Regions from separate parts of the Homo sapiens genome. Here region 1 is linked to region 2. The links are contacts of gene promoters, found by promoter capture Hi-C in blood cells and fetal thymus (Javierre and others, 2016). All regions are on one chromosome and are shown on one strand. Each heading gives the region's core, a stretch centred on a gene start or on the middle of the fragment in contact. The rest is flanking DNA. Distances are from core to core; before and after follow the strand shown. Region 1 has its middle 18 kb from the start of PDXDC1. Region 2 holds the start of CEP20 (centrosomal protein 20).

Evidence for each region. Contacts are between HindIII fragments. The CHiCAGO score rates a contact against its expected background, and 5 or more counts as called.
Region 1: a contact is called between a fragment that was not itself captured here and the fragment with the promoter of CEP20 in region 2, in 4 of 17 cell types (naive B cells, total B cells, M0 macrophages and 1 more). The highest score is 9.5, in naive B cells.

What each region holds. Positions count from the first base shown.
Region 1 is chr16:14,955,276-14,958,126 of GRCh38, reverse strand. No RefSeq gene overlaps it. Among named protein-coding and RNA genes, the nearest start is that of PDXDC1, 18 kb to the left of the region's middle. The HindIII fragment of the contact is 1,491 bases long and covers 745-2,235 here.
Region 2 is chr16:15,886,670-15,889,862 of GRCh38, reverse strand. CEP20 (centrosomal protein 20) reads left to right here and starts at 1,260. Exons shown (of 5, transcript NM_144600.4): 1 at 1,260-1,305. The coding sequence starts at 1,278. The HindIII fragment of the contact is 7,894 bases long and covers 1-3,193 here.

The sequences.
Region 1 (2,851 bases), core at 241-2,740, 930 kb after region 2:
AAGCGATCCTCCCGCCTCAGCTTACCAAAGTGCTGTGATTACAGATATGAGCCACCACATCAAGCTAACATAGGGATCGGCACTCTAGCCTGGGCGACAGAGGAGACTACGTCTCAAAACAATTAATTAATTAATTAAAATAAATAACCCCATACTTTCTGCCTCTGTGGCTTTGCCTGTTCTGGGTATTTCGTGTGAACGGACCCATGCATCTGGTGGTCCGGGCTCATTTCAAACGCTCAGCCCCCATGTCGGCCCATGGCCTCCGGATTGGATGGTGTGAGCTGGGTGTGCGCGGGGTGCTCAATCCCTCCGGAGCATCTGGAGTGGCCACGTGCAGGTGCGGGAGGCGGCGGCGGCGCAGGGGGCAGCTGGAGGCCCGGGAAGCCCGGACGTGGTGTAGGGAGCTGCCGACCATGCTGGCTTCTGATCGCGGGCTCCCAAATTCAAGACAGCCCTGGTGACATAGCAAGAGCCTGTCTCTATAAAAAATTAAAAATCAGCCAGGCATGGTGGTGCATGCCTGTGGTCCCAGCTACTCGTGAGGCTGAGGCGGGAGGATCACTTCAGCCTCGGGGTTTGAGGCTGCAGTGAGCTATGACTGTACCACTGCGTTCCAGCCTAGGTGACAGAGTAAGACTTTGTCTAAAAAAAAGAGAGAGAAAGGGAGATGGGAAGATTTATGCTGCTGACTTTGAAGATGTTGGATGGGGAGCCAAGGAGTGCAGGGAGCATCTAGAAGCTTGGAAGAGGCAAGAAAATGAACTCTCCTTTAGGACCTCCAGGAGGAATGCAGTCCTGCAGACCCATTTTAGACTCTGACACCCCAAATTCTAAGACAAGAAGTTTGTGTTCTTTTAAGCCATTAAATTCGTGGTAATTTGTTACCTCAGCCATGGAAAAATGATACAAGGGGGATATAAGTAAAAAGCAAAGAAGGAGATGTTTTGGTGAGCTGGAAGCCTGCCCAGCTGGGAGAAATCTAACAGAAGTTTACTCCGGACCAGTAACAAGGATAAGGAGCCGGAGAAGGCTATAAATCAATAAACGGGCAGATAAAAAGGGTCAGAGAACATAGAAATGGGCAGATTTCCAAGAACTGAAGAGAATGGATATATTAGTTTGCTGGGGCTGCCATAACAAAATAGCGCACACAGCGTGGCTTAGACAATAGAAACTTATTTGCTCACCCTTCTGGAGGCAAGAAGTCCAAGACCAGGGTGCCTGCTGGGTTAGTTTCACACGGCTGCCTTCTTGCTGTGTCTTCACATGGTCTTTCCTTGGTGTGAAAACATCCCTGGTGCCTCGTTTTATTTATTTATTTTTTAAATAAAAAAAAAGAGAGAGAGAGTGACAGGGTCTCACTACGTTGCCCAGGCTGGTTTTGAACTCCTGAGCTCAGGCAATCCTCCTGCCTTGGCCTCCTAAAGGGCTGGGATTACAGGCATGAGCCACCATGCCCGGCCCCTGGTGCCTGTTTGTGTGTCCAAATTTTTTTTTTATTTTATTTTATTTTTAAAGACGGAATCTTGCTCTGTCACCCAGGCTGTAGTGCAGTGGCTCGATCTCCTCTCACTGCAACCTCCCTCTCCCAGGTTCAAGCGATTCTCCTGCCTCAGCCTCCCAAGTAGTTGGGATTACAGACATGTGCCACCACACCCAGCTAATTTTTAGTAGAGATGGGGTTTCACCATGTTGGCCAGGCTGGTCTCAAGTGATCTTCGTACCTCAAGTGATCCTCCTACTTTAGCCTCCTAAAGTGCTGGGATTACAGGTGTGAGCCACCAACCATGCCCCCAAATTTCCTCTTCTTATAAGGACACCAGACAGATTGGATTAGAGCCCATCCTAAAGGTCTCACTTTAACTTAATTGCCATTTTAAAGGCCTTATCTTCAAACACAGTCGCCTTCTGAGGTACTGGAAATTAGGGCTCCAATATATGAATTTTGGAGGGCATCATTTAGCCCATAACAACTGGGTTGATAAACTGAGGGACAGCCTACAGAATAGCCGGTTAGTGATCTCACTTGGAGACTAAGGCCATTTGACAGTTCAACACAATGTGAAGCAATCTGGGATTGGAGGCCAGACTGGGAACAAAGAACCTTAGGGTGACGATCGGTGATCATTTGAATAAGATCTGTAGATTAGGTACGTGTATGATTTCCGTGCTTATTTCCTTGTTTTGATCATTGTACTATGGTCATGTAAGATATCAATATTTCAGGAAGCTTGGATGAAGAGTATGTGGTAACTCTTTGTACTATTTTTGCAACTTCTTTCAAAGTCTGTAGTTATTTCAAAGTTAAAAGCTAAAAATCAAGGCCAGGCACGGTGGCTCATGGCTATAATCCCAGCACTTTGGGAGGCCGAGGCCGGCGGATCACCTGAGGACAAGAGTTGGAGACGAGCCTGGCCCACATGGCGAAACCCCGTCTGTACTAAAAATACCAAAATGATCCAGGCATGGTAGCGCATGCCTTTATTCCCAGCTACTGGAGAGGCTGAGCCAGGAGAATCGCTTGAACTTGGGAGGGAGAAGTTGCAGTGAGCCAAGATCGCACCACTGTACTCCAGAGCCTGGGCAACAGGAGTCTGTCTCAAAAAAAAAAAAAAAAAAAAAGAAAAAAGAGAAGTTAAAATCAGGGCCAGGTGCGGTGGATCATGCCTGTAATCCCAGCACTTTGGGAGGCCAAGGTGTGTGGATCACAAGGTCAGGAGATCGAGACCATCTTGGCTAACATGATGAAACCCCATCTCTACTAAAAATACAAAAAAAAAAAAGAAAGAAAGAAAAATTAGCCGGACATGGTGGCGGGTGCCTGTAGTCCCAGCTACTCAGGAGGCTG
Region 2 (3,193 bases), core at 11-2,510:
GTTCTCGAACTCCTTACCTCAGTCTCCCAAAGTGCTGGGATTCCAGGCGTAAACCACCGTGCCCTGGCAGCTCTTAGGTGTACTTTTTTTTTTTTTTTTTTGAGACGGAGTCTCACTCTGTCGCCCAGGCTGGAGTGCAGTGGTGCCATCTCGGCTCACTGCAAGCTCCACCTCCCGGGTTCACGCCATTCTCCTGCCTCAGCCTCCCGAGTAGCTGGGAGTACAGGCGCCCGCCAGCACGCCCGGCTAATTTTTTGTATTTTTAGTAGAGACAGGGTTTCACCGTGTTAGCCAGGATGGTCTCGATCTCCTGACCTCGGGATCCGCCCGCCTCGGCCTCCCAAAGTGCTGGGATTACAGGCGTGAGCCACCGCGCCCGGCCACTCTTAGGTGTACGTCTAATCGATGTTTATTATTTAGCCAAGTGTTTGGATCTCACCGGCATTACAACTGGAATCATGCAACCTCACACTCAGTTTAGGGTACATTATTCCCCTGTTCCTTTTCCTTTACTTCCATGGGATGTTGGAGCTTATTCCTTCATTAGTTAGTTCCATAAAAAGCTCCTGGACTCCTTACATGCACTGTGTAAGTGCGAGTGGAAGAGGACAGGCTGGTGACCTTGGTTAAGTCTCTTCAGCGATGGAGGACTCTGTTTCCTTCATTGTAAAAACGGCGTGATCATAAGGAAATAATGCGCTAAGGCGTCACAGTAAGTGCTTAATACAGTGGTTCTCGAGGTGTGATCTCCAGACCGACCAGCAGTACCAGTACCACCTGGGAACTCGATAGAAATGCAAATCCTAGGGCCTCACCCCAGATTTACAGAATCAGAAACTCTATGGGGAGGACTAGCAAACAATCCGTTTAAACAAGTCTTGGAGGTGATGAGGATTCATGCTCAAGTTTGAGAACCGCAGGGTTAATAGGTGGTAACTACTAGCAGTTGGTACTTGAGGCTGCAGAGACAATGAAAAACTCAGCTGGCTAAAGTTAAGCACTAAGGTGCCAGCAGCACCCCACAGGGCTCTCCACTGCCTCAGTCCCCGCCCTCCCTGCCGTCTCACTCAACTGGGCCTTCCGAGAGCGCTCGCTGATTGGTGGAGTCTCTGGTCGACATTCACTACCCACTCAACCGCAGAGCTCATAAACTGAGAGGGGCGGAAGTGGGCGGGGCGAGAGCTGTGCGCCTATTGGCTACAGACCACGCCGCAGGGTGAGTGGGGCGGAGCTGCGCGTGCGCAGGGCCGCGGTGCGGCCCTGGCGGCCGTTGAAAAATGGCGACTGTGGCAGAGTTGAAGGCTGGTGAGTGCGAGCAGGGAGGCCTCCACATGGGAAGCGTCGGGCCTTCATCTTGTGGAAAGGATGGGATGGGAGGAGAGCGCGCGGAACACATGGGTTGGCTTTTACAGGCGTCATTCTTCGGTGTGAGGGCCTGCGGGGAGCGTCTGGCTGCTGTCTTGGCCCGTGCGCGGGGAGCTCTTATGGGGAAGAGGTTGCCCACTGGCGAGTTTTAAGCCAGTTTGGAGCTAAAGGAGGAGTTGCGTAATCTTCAGGCATCTAAGAGGCCTACAGGCCTGCATCTTGGGCCCCTGGCTCATCTTCTTGGACCCTGCCGGGGGCTGGAGGACTTGGACCAGGCTTGGCACTCAGGGCTGATGACTACAATTCCCACAACCCCTATTGGGTTAGGCACTGCCCTAAACAATTTGCTTGGTTGTCTCGTTGGGTCCTTACAACAACCTGTTAAGTAGCCCTCCCCTCCTTGCTTTTTTTTTTTTTTTTTAAAGAGAGGGTCTCTCTGTCGCCCAGGCTGGAGTGCAGTAGCGCGATCACAGCTCACTGCAGCTTCGAACTCCGGGACTCCAGCTATCCTCCCACCTCAGCTTCCAGAGCAGGTGGGAATACAGGGGCTCTTCACTACGCCCGGCTAATTTTTGTATTTTTTGTAGACACGGGGTCTTACTGTCGAACTCCTGGTCTCAAGCTATCCTCCTGCCTTGGCCCCCTCAAAGTGCTGGGATTACAGGTGTGAGCGCCTGGCCCCTTTTTCATCAGAAGAAACTAGAGGCAAAAAGTTTGCTGGCCTGGCCATTCTCCTGTCTTTTCAGGAAAAGATACTCTAAGCTAGTTATGTTTGAGTCATTAATGACATTTGTACGCTGTTTACTTTGAAGCAAATGTCCAGACAAGTAATAGTAATAATAGTTATCATTGAGCCTCATGTGTCAGGCACTACTCAACTCAGCCTGTGTGTTACCTGATTGTAACAACCCTATGCCCATTTCATAGACTGGGAAACGAGGTACTGAGAAGTGAAATAGCTCAAAGTGATTTCACTGGAAAGAGACACAGCATGGGAACCTAGTTGTGACGCACTGGAGCGCCAGGTCTTAATCACTGAGCAAGATTGCTGTCCAAAAAATAAAACCAGTTCCACTTTGCAGGGAACCCAGGGTTTAAACTAGTAATTCTTAGATATTTTAGGGAGGAGACGTGTATAAAAGTGTGTATTTGGGGACAGGGCTGGTGAACAATCATAAAACAGAACAGGCATGCATCTGTCCACAAGAACAGACTTCACGAGTCTACAGATGCTGTTCCCAGGGAAATACACATCACATGTAATATTGCATACATTTTCAGAGGATTTAAAGGTACACTTGGAATGGGCCAAGCACAGTGGCTCATGCCTGTAATCCTAACACTTTGGGAGGATCGCTTGAGCCCAGAAGTTTAAGACCAGCCTGGCCAACATGGTGAGACCCCATCTTTATTTAAAAAATAAAAATTAAAAAAAAGAGCCGGGCATAGTGGCCTGTGGTAGTTCCAGCTACCCCACAGGCTGAAACAGGAAGATAGCTTGAGCCCAGGAGATAGAGGTGACAATGAGCTACAGTGGTGCCACTGCACTCCAGCCTGGGCAACAAAATGAGACCTTGTCTCAAAAAAAAAAACAAATTAAAAAATAAAATAAAAAAGGTACTCTTGAAATATAAGCGAGGTTAAGACCTTTCCGAAGAAGTTTTGATGGCGCAGTGTTCTAAGCATAATAGAGGGAAAGGTAAAATGCTATGGACCTCCAAAAGAAACCCGGTGAAAACTTGTTTGCCAGCCAGTTACCTTACATTTTATGGGCATTTACCTTTTTTAAGCACGATCACGTTTTTCCTTCTTACTTGGTTCTATCTCT